Linked DNA regions of Homo sapiens: region 2 is linked to region 1. Evidence: promoter capture Hi-C in 16 types of primary human blood cells and fetal thymus (Javierre and others, 2016). All regions are on one chromosome and are shown on one strand. Each heading gives the region's core, a stretch centred on a gene start or on the middle of the fragment in contact. The rest is flanking DNA. Distances are from core to core; before and after follow the strand shown. Region 1 holds the start of ACTR3B (actin related protein 3B). Region 2 has its middle 43 kb from the start of ATP6V0E2.

Region 1 (6,109 bases), core at 1,697-4,196:
GGGGAGGTCTTTCATGGGTGACATTCCATAAAAGACATGAATCCATACTGTATATAGGATACTACTGTATGTATGTTAAATTTTCTGATTTTGATGATTGGAATGTGATTCTAGAAGGGAAAATGTGTCCTCAGAAAGTACGCATTCAAGTATTTTGATATAAAAGGGTATGATCTCTGCAACTTACTCTCAAACAGTGCAGGAAAGTAATAATAATATGTATGGACATACAGAGAGTGACAAAGCAAATGTTAACAGTTGGTAAAACTGGAAGAAGAGTATACAGTAGTTTTTTGTTCTCTTCCAGCTTTCAGTAGATTTGAAATTATTTCAAAAAAAGTTGAAAAATGCAAAAGACTTCATTTGAAAAGTTTGGCTCAGAGAAGTGAGACCGGAGTTGTGAAATATTCTCTGAAAACTATGCAGCCTAGTCATCCCTTTAAATAGATGAAGCTTTATTTTTGGACTCAGCAGATCCCTTTGTCCATATTATCCTGGCCTCCAGCACATCACTGCTTACTCAGGTAGTCTCGGGGTTTACCTGAGGAGGATTCAAGGATACTGGGATGAAATTTATTTGTAAAAAATACTGTTTATCACACTGTCCAATAAATCATTAGTGCCCACTATGTATAGCTCAATGCTTTTACAATTTAGTACTACAAAAAAAGGCTTTTTTCACCCAAGAAACAGGTATTTCTCTTGATTTCTGATGACAGGAATTACATAACCATGACTCTTATGATGTTGTCAGACAGGAAGACTAAGGTCGAATGTGCGGACCAACTTCAGCAGCCACTGGGCTAAAGCTCAGGGTGACTTCCTAGGTCCGTTCTTTTCCTTTGGCTTGGTTATTTTTATCTGAATTTTACCACTTTTTGTCCTATTTTGAGGCAAAACTAAATCCAAAAATCATTTTGGCTCTCTGGGAAATGTAAGAACTACTGATGTGCTCAAGTTGGTAAATTCGGGCTCTTTCAGGCTCCTTCTGGCCATACACTCGATATGGGGAATTCATATGGAGATTCCCTGCCACCGTTTCTAAGTCTTGACACCAACTTCTGAAGCATGACTTTGGGCCACAAAACAATGATCTATAGAAGTTGAATCTCCAAGTTAGCCAAGTTACATTAATCACTTACCTCAAAAGGTCAAAACTGAGCACGACATTTTAGGTATTTATAGCAAGAAAGATGAGTAAGGTCCACGACTTACTAATCTTAAAGGTATGACAACTCTGTGAGCATTATTTTATTGCTACTACCAAGAATTCCTTTATATTTTAATAGTTCTGCAAGACTAAAACTACAAAGCAAAAATCTCACATGCAAATGTGGAAATGAAAAATACTTTCACCCACTGGTTTCACTCTTGACACAACCAGACCTGAGGGGACCTGAGGTGAACCCATTGGGGGAGGGCATGAGTTAAGGGTGTCAATAATTGAGGGAGGGGAGCTGTAGTATCGACAACGCTGATTTTGGCTTGTGTTTTAGGTAGAAAAGCAAGTTCTAAAATAAAGAGCTACAAAGCTTGATATGACGTGTATTTCAAAAAGAATTCACACAAGCAAAGAGGATTTTTCCAGTCCACAACCACTTCTGGTCGCTTCAGCAGCAAAAGGAAGGAACTAACAGTAGGAGATGGACTGTAGCAAACTAAAGAAGGCACCCCCACAAGGTTGTCAAGGAAACCAAACCAAGTGCATTTTTCTATAGAAAAGAATCAAGGGTAAGGTGAACATGCCATGTTACATTTTGTGGCAAAAATGATTAAAATCCCTTCTTGAAAAAAATCGCTAAGAGACCAAATTTACTTCCAGGCTATTTTACTAAGCACTACACCCATAACGCAGGCAGGCAAGCTTGTATTCCCAAACTACCAGCTACATGGATTCAGCAATCACCTTACTACAACCAGCTAACTTGGGTCACCGATACTTCAGGGCATTTCCTAAGATCTCTTTTTAATAGCTTAACGGCAACGAAAGAAGTGGTCACACTCAAAAAGTTAAAAACAAAAACCTCTACCACAATTCCACAAACATGCTCTCCCAAATTTAGGGTATTTTTCAAAATGGAGTCTTTTTAAACACATCATTTTTCAGCGAAAAGGCAAATCTATGCAAACCAAAGGGACAGCTTGGCCTGAGTGTGCCATTTCATACTGGAAAAGCGCAGGGAGGGCAGTAAAAATGGTATCAAGTTGGGAGATCGATGCTATTCTCTCCACAAGTAGGTGGTAAAGAATCCTCAGCCAGGAGGAATGACACGCACACGCGGGGACAGAACGAGGGCCAGTGCTGAGAACGCTGGAAGGCAGGGACACCGTTCACTAGGAGATGAGTGACGTTAAAGGATCTGCAGTGATGATCTGTGCCTCACGCTGGCGAATATTCCTAGGAGGGGAGATCCCGCGCTCCCGGTGTCCCTCAGGGTGTCCACCCCGGCGACGGCCGGAGCCGGGCTGCGGGTCCAGGGGCCCGGCCACGTGGGCGGGGGAGGCGAGGAGCGCCGGGCTCGCTCAGAGTGGGCACCGCGTCCCTACCCTCCGTGCTTTTCCTCTTGTGGCCCTTCCCGGCAGGGAAGAGGGGGTTTTACGACGTCAAGGCAAGGCTTGGAGGGAAGCGGCGGCCGGCGCCCCACCTGCCCAGGTGATCGCGGGGCTCAAGCCCGGGGCGACGGACGCAGCTCGACCTCCAGGCGAGGTGGACGCCAGGGGCCGGGAGCGGGGCCGCGGAGGAGCGGGGGTGGGCGCCGAGCTGCTCTTACCCGGTGCCACAGTCCACCACGCAGGGAGGCAGGGAGCCTGCCATGCTCGGGACGCGCGGCGCTCGGCCCCGCCGGCAGCCCGAGAGCGCCCCGTCGCCGTCCGCTCCGCCGCCCGCTAGCCCCGCGCGCAGCGTCTCCCGCGAGCCGCCGCAGCGCCGCTGCCGGGAGCCCGGATGCTCGGCGGCCGACACGTGACGTCACTCCCCGGTCGGCCAATCAGAACGCGCGCACGCCCCGCCTCCCCCAACACCCCCACCCCCACTCCGGCGCGCCATCTTTAGTGCTGGCAGCGAGGCTTCTTGGCCCCATACGTCCAACCTTGCTGCTGGAGAGATTGGGGTTTATTTTTAACTGACTTACATGAACGTGACCCCATTTCCGAGGCCTGGCGCCTTTCTCCTCCTGTAAGTCTTCGCTCGAATGTCACCTTGCGAGGGAAGTTGTTCCTGATCACCCTGACTATGTCCCCTACCGGTACTGTATCCTCTGTCTCAACAATCTGTTGGTTTCATTCCTAACCCTTAAAGCAAAGTGTTTATATTTTTATATTTATGTATTTGTTGTCTGCCTCCCCTACTGGACTATCAAATCTTCTAGGATAGGGCTTGAGTCTGTCTTAATCACTATTGATGAGCAGCAGGTGCTTAGCACAGTATTTGGTGTACCTGTGGAAGTGCCCAAATGTTTGTTGAATGACTGAGTAACCTTCCCCATATAATAAAAAAAAAAAAAAAAATTAGTTGGAATTGGCCGGGCGCGGTGGCTCACGCCTGTAATCCCAGCACTTTGGGAGGCTGAGGGTGGATCACAAGGTCAGGAGTTCCAGACCAGCCTGGCCAACATGGTGAAACCCCTTCTCTACTGAAAATACAAAAATTAGCCGGGCGTGGTGGCGGGTGCCTGTAATCCCAGCTGCTCCGGAGGCTGAGGCAGGAGAATCGCTTGAACCTGGGAGGCGGAGGTTGCAGTGAGCCAAGATCGCGCCATTGCACTCCAGCCTGGACAACAGGGCGAGAGTCTGTCTCAAAAAAACAACAAAAAAAATTAGTTGGAATTATTATACCTAACACGGCCTAAATTTTTCTAAGAAGAAAAATCTGCAAAACAAATGCTTGGCCAGCCTTAAGGAATGAATGGCCTTAGACTGAGTAAACCACACCAAGATCACTCCTGGAAAATGTTTTCAAGTGTCGAAGATGGGATGATCGCCCAAAAGTTCTTACTGAAACCAAAGAAGGCAAACACCACCTACTATATTATAAAGGTACTGAGAGTCCCACTTGCCACTTGCTTCCTGCTTCTTGCCCGATCGTAAATTCTTGATACTAATTTTTTAGGAGCTTTCTGGAAACATGTATTTTTTTGTTTTGTTTTGTTTTTTGAGATGAGTCTCACTCTGTCGCCCAGGCTGGAGTGCAGTGGCGCAATCTCGGCTCACTGCAACTCCGCCTCCCAGGTTCAAGCAATTCTCCTGCCTCAGCCTCCCAAGTAGCTGGGATTACAGGCACCCACTACCATGCCCGGTTAATTTTTTGTATTTTTAGTAGAGACAGGGTTTCATCATGCTGGCCAGACTGGTCTTGAGCTCCTGACCTCGTGATCTGCCTGCCTCAGCCTCCCAAAGTACTGGGATTACAGGCATGAGCCACCACGCCCAGCCAAGACATGTTGTTTTTACAGGTACTTAAAACATTGTGTTTTTTACCTAGAAGTAATAGATACGTTGACCACTCCTAGGTAACCCATCATCATTTCTTTTTTTTAACTCATAAGTACCCATTAAGGCCCAGACCTAGAGAATGTTCAGGAGAACTGAAGAGAGAAGCAAATGGGAGGAAAATAAAAAGGAGTAAGTGTGGAGGAATCCCAGTTTAGAAGCCCAAGGCTGGGGTTAAAGATTGGCTGGCTTGCTTTGTGTTTTGCCAAAGCCCTGCCTTGGTCCCTTTTCTTTTTCTTTTCTTATTGCTTGTTTCTTAGAGACAGGGTCTCACTATGTTGCCCAGGCTGGAGGGCAGCGACTATTCACAGGCATGGTCCCACTACTGATCTGCATGAGAGTTCTGATCGGCTCCATCTCTGACCTGGGCCAGTTCACCCTTCCTTAGGCAACCTGGTGGTTCCCCGCTCCTGGGAGGGTGCCATATTGATGCCAAACTTAGTGCAGATCCATCATTCTGGGTGGCACAGAACTCCTGGGCTCAAGGGACCCTTCCACCTCAGCCTCCCGAGTATCTGGGACTACAGGCAAGTACAACTGCTCCCAGCCCAGCTCCCATTTTTTTCACGGCCCTAGCCTAAACATAGATTAATTCTAAATTACAGACTGTTGACACTGCCATGTCTTTTATTTTATTCACTTAACAAACATATATCAAGCGCCTACTGTGAGTCAGGCTTTGTGTTAGACTGAGCATGCAGCAGTAAACAGGATGTTCAGAGTATCTGCCCACAAGAGTCCAGTGGGAGATAGCAACAGTAAACAGGCAATTACAATACAGTGTAGTCAATGCTAAGACAGGGCAAGTCCAGGGTGCCCAGAAAGCCATAGAGGGGCTGACTTGGGAATCAGTAGAAACTTCTCAAAGCAATGATATTGAAGCTGAAACCCAGAAGGTGGGCAGAGTAGCTAGGTGGAGGAGACTGTAGGGTGGAAGAGTGTTTCTGGGATGGAAAACATGCACAAAGCCCAGGAAGAAAGACCTCAAGGCTTGTATAGGACCCAGCTACTACACCAGGGAAGAAGTCTTTACAGGAATTTGGGACTGGCTAGTAATAAAGGGTGTGCGATTTCAGGGAGCATCTTCTCTGCATAGGACTCATTGGGATTGATGGCCATGGTCAGCAGCTGGTAGAAAACAAAAGATTTCCTGACCTCAGTGATTTCCTCTAGATACCACTAACCCTTGATATATCAAAGGTGTTTTGTAGGCAGATAACAGAAAACCTAACTAAAAGTGGCACAAGGAAAGAGCAAATTTGTTATCTCGCACAATAGGAAATCCAGTGACTCCAGGATAATTTGACCATTCGATGGCATCATCATGGGCCTGTACGTTCAGCTCTGCCAGGGCCCTGCGTGTTGTCGTTTGTCCTCAGCTTATCCCATGCAGTGTTGAGACGGCTGCAGCCCCTCCATGCACCAAAATCATGATGGACAAAAACAGTGGAAGAAATGCCCCATCCTGATGCCCTTTCTCAAAGGCAGTGGGAGGAAATGTTTCCGGAAGTTCCCAGCTGCTTCTCTTCTTGTGTCATTAATCAGCTCTTTTTCTATTCTTTTTCTGGGGTGGCCATGACAAAGTAGAACAAACTGGGTGGCTTCAACAAGAGATATTTAT
Region 2 (6,109 bases), core at 944-3,443, 2.8 Mb after region 1:
TGCCCCCTAAAAGAAAAAGCCAGGTGTGGTGATGCGTGCCTGTGGTGTCAGTAACCTGGGAGGCAGAGGTGGGAGGATAGTGTGAATCTAAGAGTTCGAGGTTACCGTGAGTTGTGACTGCGCCACTGCACTCCAGCCTGGGTGACAAAGCGAGACTCTGGCTCAAAAGGAAAAAACAAGAGTAGGGGAGTTAGGGCAAGAAGGAAGACAATGTGATTGGATTGAAATGTCATTAAAATGCAGCATAATAAGACATTTGCAAATGGGCAAAAGCTCAGGAATTAATGGCATTCATAAACCTCACTGAAAAATCTACTTGCAGATATAACCCAGCCAACTGAAAGATGAATCAGTGAGGGCTCCAGAAATAGAGAGGTTGAAGTATAAAGATACCAGCTTCAATAATTGAATAATCTTTCTTGGAGAAATAAGCCAGAAGGCAAAAACAATTGAATAAATACCGACTCAACCTTAAAAATGTCAACACAATGATAACATGCCATAGCAAAATTTCCTGGAAGTCAACAATATCATGGGGGATTAGGTTAGGTTTGGGCTGGGGAGTGGGAGATACCACTGTGCTAATTGTCGTATCTTTCAGAATATGTGGTTAAGGAATACTGTTTCATTTTTTTGAAATTGATAAATTGAGAAGGCTATTATGCTAAAAACAGACTTTGTATACCTTTGAAATGTAAAAGTAAAAGTAAAATTGAGAGGAAGAAAAGCAACCAAATAAAATAGATTACAGAGTAAAAGGAAACAGGCAACAACAAGGAATAGTACAAAAGTTAAAACGAGTAAGACTGTTGCACCTGAGATGACCTCACCTGGCATGGACTCAACTAAATTCACTTTCTGTACTAAACAAAAACTATGGTAGTTACATATAAGTCATTCATTCAGAAAGTAAAAGGTTGGAAAAAAATTCAAAAAAGAAAGTAAAAGGGGCCAGACGCGGTGGCTCACGCCTGTAATCCCAGCACTTTGAGAGGCCGAGGTGGGTGGATCACTTGAGGTCAGAGTTCGAGACCAGCCTGGCCAACATGGTGAAACCCCGTCTCTACTAAAAATACAAAAATTAGCTGGGCATGGTGGTGGATGCCTGTAATACCAGCTACTCAGGAGGCTGAGGCAGGAGAATCGCTTGAACCCGGGAGGTGGCAGTTGCAGGGAGTGGAGATCATGATACTGCACTCCAGCCTGGGCAACAGAGTGACTCTGTCTCAAAAAAAAAAAGCAAAAGGATGGTTCAAAAATAAGCCAAACAAATGCACAGTAAAAGAAAGCGTGAGTATTATTTGATTGCAAAACAAAAAAAATTAAATGAAACAAGGGTTTAATTATTATTTTTTTGGTTTATTTAAAAATGTTTGATTTTATCATTGTACTCCGACCCTGCCAGTTAACTGTGGGTGCAGAGAACCTTTGCTTTACACATTCCGGAAAACTTGTAGAGAAGGCTGAAGCCAGGGAGGAGCAAGTGCCCAGCAGTGTGGGGCGGCAGAGGGTCTCACCATGGCCTGAGTATTTTGGGCTGTCCGCACTTGCTCCTCAGCCCTCCTATTCCAGTCCCACAGGTACATGGGCACCAACAAGTTCCAGAGCCTTTAAGGATCTAGGGAGTGTGTTGGGCTCGTTCTCAGCTCTTGCCCCTGCTGTCTTTCTTATATCTCTAAAGTCAGGCACGATGGGTCCTCAGCTTTTCAGGGCCAAAATCTTGCTGTTGTCACCTTTTCTTTTCTCCACATCCTCATGGTTTAATATTGCTTTAAATTTTTTGTTGTTGTTGTTTTTTGAGATGGAGTTTTGCTCTTGTTGCCCAGGCTGGAGTGCAATGGCGTGATCTCAACTCACTGCAACCTCCGCCTCCTGGGTTCAAGCAATTCTCCTGTCTCAGCCTCCCGAGTAGCTGGGATTACAGGCATGCGCCACCGCACCTGACTAGTTTTGTATTTTTAGTAGAGATGGGGTTTCTCCCTGTTGGCCAGCCTGGTCTCGAACTCCCGACCTCAGGTGATCCGCCTGCCTCGGCCTCCCGAAGTGTTGGGATTACAGGTGTGAGCCACTGCGCCTGGCCTAAATTTTTTTTTTAATTTTTAAAATAATTGCTTAAAAATTTTTTTTGCTTTGGTTTTAGTGGGGCTTTGGGAAAGAGTGAAATTAGATAATATGTTTAGTCCATCATTTAAACAGTTAAAACACTTTTAAAACACTTTAACTGGAAGTCAGAGTTTACCTTACAACAATGTTCAGAATTCACAAAAGGGCAGTGTGCTTTATGATCTTATATATACGAAGTAACATAGAGAAAAAAAAAGTACTCAGAAGGAGAAATAGAAAATTTAAGGACGGGCAAAGATACTGGATCTGGATAAAATATTTAAGTTTGAACTTTATATATTGAATTCTTCGTTCTATAGAGACTATGCTTTTCTATGCAGCAAGCCAAGGAACATTAAAAAAATTGGTCATGTAATTTACATTGCACAATATGGAGATTGTGCGTTGCTTTAAAACTATTGTTAGCGTCTGGGAACAATTTTACTTTTATCAAAACCATGTTTAAACTGTGAAAAATCTTAAGAGGGAGTAGAGCTATTCTGATTGAAGTTTGGGGTTTGAGACTGGACCTCACCAGGGGTCTCAATCAAAAGAACTTCTCACAGGACACAGTTTGAGAACACTAGCCAGGCATGGTGTCGTGCACCTATAGTCTCGGCCACTCAGGAAGTTGAGGCAGATGATTGCTTGAGGCCAGGAGGTCAATGCTGCAATGAGCTATGATTGCACCACTGCACTCCAGCCTGGGTGACAGAGTGAGACCCTGTCTCAAAAAAAAAAAAAAAAAAAGATGTAAAACACTGTTTTAAGATGTAACATTTCTACTTTCAAACATAAATTAATTGACCTTAGGTTCATTACCTTCTGCTTAAGACACATGGTTGGAAGAGGAGTTTCAATTATATATAAATATGTTGAGTCAACAATAGGTTAATTTTCCTGACTTTGCAGAACTGAAAAGTCTACATATTACTGCTGTCAAAAGATAGGAGCATTTAACAAGTAAAGTGAAAGAGTCTTCGTGCAAGAACTGTTTAAAATGTTTGGGGCAGGCTGGGTGTGATAGCTCAGCCTGTAATCCCAGCACTTTGGGAGGCCGAGGCGGGCAGATCACCTAAGGTTGGGAGTTTGAGACCAGCCTGACCAACATGGAGAAACCCTGTCTCTACTAGAAATACAAAATTAGCTGGGCGTAGTGGCGCATGCCTGTAATCCCAGCTACTCGGGAGGCTGAGGCAGGAGAATCGCTTGAACCCAGGAGGCGGAGGTTTCAGTGAGCCAAGATCGCGCCATTGCACTCCAGCCTGGGCAACAAGAGCGGAACTCCATCTCAAAAAAAAAAAAAAAATATTTGGGGCAAATAATAATATATTGTATGTACAGAGAGAAGCATCGGAAAGATACACAGGAATAGAAGGTGGATAGAAGGCAGAAATGGGGTAGTGTAAGACTTCTTAAAGGATACCTTTTTATATTGCTTTGAATTTTGAGCTATAACATATTCTTTGCTTAAAAGGCAGACATGTAACTATTGGTAGTGCTTTATGCAGCTATTGATTGGGTCTGCTTCCATAGCTTCCTCTTCTGTCTTTCCTGATTTCTGTATGAGAAAAGGTCTCAGACAAGTTAAGGGACTCATGGAAGGTGGTGTGAGTTTGAGAACATGGCTGGCAATCTGTAAGTATAGTTTATGTATTTTTGAGAGTAGTGCCTACCTCCATCATGCTAGCTTTGGGAAGGTAGTGTTAAAAAAACCAAGGGCTTTTAATGCAAAGTTGATGGTCTTGAATGCTTATATACATATGTTTGGGAAAATTGGATTAGTGTAGTTCTTCCCATTTGGGATAAAATATATATATATAAAAGTGGAAGAGAAATGATATGACATTTTAGCATATAGAGGGACTTTCAAAGTAGAAACATAATAAAGGAAATTATTCAGGAAAATAATTGGTAGATTTGATCACCTAGACTGTTTAAATACTTATATTGCAGAAAATGTATAACAAGGTAAACAACAAGCTGGGAAAAATTAGCAATGTAATGAGCAAGCACAAATATCCTCAGTGTATAAGCATTCACACAAATTGATAAGAAGCACTAAAACTCCAGTAGAAAAGTTATCCAAGGACAATTCATGAGAGAAATAGAGATCACTAGTATACAAAAAATAATATTCAGTAATAAGTAAATAAATCACTGCACCATGAAATCCTACTTCTTTTGAATTAGGAAATATTATCCAAAAATGGCAACATTTAACACTGAGGTAGGGATTATTACCCACGTTTTAGAGATGAAGAAACCAAGGAATGAAGGGATTAATTTACTTGCCTGAAATCACATAGCTGGTGCTGGGATTTGAACCTAGCATTGTGTCCCTATTAAGCTGGCCTCACATTATAAATATATACTGTTTTCAAGCACTTTCAAGCTATATTATATATCCGTTTATGGCAGTAAGTATACATCTTCATTTTTGATGGTTGTATAGAATTTTATTGAATGGATGTAATATAATTTATTTAATATATCCTCTATTTTGAGTGTTTCCAGGTTCTGGTGGTGGTTTTGCTATTATAGTGCTTCACCGAACATTTTTGTGTGTGTATATCTTTGCATACATGTACAAATACTTATGTGGGGTAGGTTCCTAGAAAGGCACTATTTGGCTAATAGGGTATGTGCATTAAAATTTTTGATAGCTAATGTGACACTTTATAATGGCTCTTTAACCCTTTACTATCACCTGTGTATAATTTACCACCACCTTCAGTATTGGCACCAGTTTTGAATGGCTTTGCATTAAATTTGTAGGTAGATTTAGTGATATTCAATATTTCTTTTAAAAATATTGACTCTTCCTCATCCTGAACCAATTGACCAGAAAACAAAAAACAAAAAAAACAAAATGGACTCTTCCTGTGTAAGATTAAGGCATGTCTCTATTTGTCTGCTTGTACATAGAGAGTTTATTTAAAGAGCAATATTATTTTTAAGGGTAGGAGTAATAGCTTATTCATGTAGTTATGTAGTGTATTCTTAAGGGTAACATTCTATTGCTGTTGCCATTCTGAGTGGGATGTTTTCATCCATTATATGTTCTTATTGTTAGACAGGGTAGTTGTTGATTTCTGTCTATTCATTTAGTAACTGGTCATCTTTTTTAATTCCCTTATTGCTTTAGTTTTTCACTTAATTTCCTTAGTTATTCAAGGTATACAGTTATCATCTATAAAGAATGAAATTTGCCATGCGCGGTGGCTCATGCCTGCAATCCTAGCACTTTGGGAGGCCGAGGTGGATCGCCTGAGGCCAGGAGTTCCAGACTAGCCTGGCCAACATGGTGAAACCCCGTTTTTACTAAAAATACAAAAATTAGCAGGGCGTGGTGGTACACGCCTGTAGTCCCAGCTACTCAGGAGGCTGAGGCAGAAGAATCGCTCAAACATGGGAGGTGGAGGTTGCAGTGAGCCGAGATTGTGCCACTGCACTCCAGCCTGGGTGACAGAGCAAGACTCCGTCCAAAAAAAAAAAAAAAAGAATTAAATTTTAATCTCCTCCTTCTTCCCAAAATCCTTTTCCTTTACTCTGTTCTTTTTGATTTGTAATATCTAATTCTTCCTAAACAGTGTAAAATCAGAATAATGATAGTAGATCTCCTTGGCTTAATTCTGGCTTCAATAAGGATTCTTCTAGTGTTTCATTTTATTTTGGTTTGAGATTTTTTTTTTCTCCCATCATCTGTTCCTAAGGAATCTTTCCCTTTTTAGCTTAAGTTTTTTACTTTCCTGGATTGAGCCTAGATTTTTTTTTTTTTTACTACTTCTGTTTGTTTATTTATTTATTTATTTATTTTTGAGATAAAGTCTCACTCTGTTGCCCAGGTTGGAGTGCAGTGGCGCCAGGGCTCACGCGATTCTTGTGCCTCAGCCTCCTGAGTAGCTGGGACTGCAGGCACGTGCCACCATGCCCAGCTAATTTTTTGTATTTTAGTATAAAGATGGGGTTTTACCATGTTGCCCAGGGTGGTCTTGATCTCCTG

Evidence for each region. Contacts are between HindIII fragments. The CHiCAGO score rates a contact against its expected background, and 5 or more counts as called.
Region 2: a fragment that was not itself captured here is called in contact with the fragment with the promoter of ACTR3B in region 1 in 15 of 17 cell types (M2 macrophages, total B cells, endothelial precursors and 12 more); the score reaches 23.8 in M2 macrophages.

Annotation. Positions count from the first base shown.
Region 1 is chr7:152,756,589-152,762,697 of GRCh38, reverse strand. ACTR3B (actin related protein 3B) reads right to left here and starts at 2,946. Exons shown (of 12, transcript NM_020445.6): 1 at 2,772-2,946. The coding sequence starts at 2,815. It also overlaps the pseudogene RN7SL845P. RefSeq lists enhancers at 2,095-2,144, 3,145-3,304 and silencers at 2,320-2,614, 2,375-2,894. The HindIII fragment of the contact is 7,028 bases long and covers 1,867-6,109 here.
Region 2 is chr7:149,914,380-149,920,488 of GRCh38, reverse strand. It overlaps a transcript of ACTR3C not described here. Among named protein-coding and RNA genes, the nearest start is that of ATP6V0E2, 43 kb to the right of the region's middle. The HindIII fragment of the contact is 9,060 bases long and covers 1-6,109 here.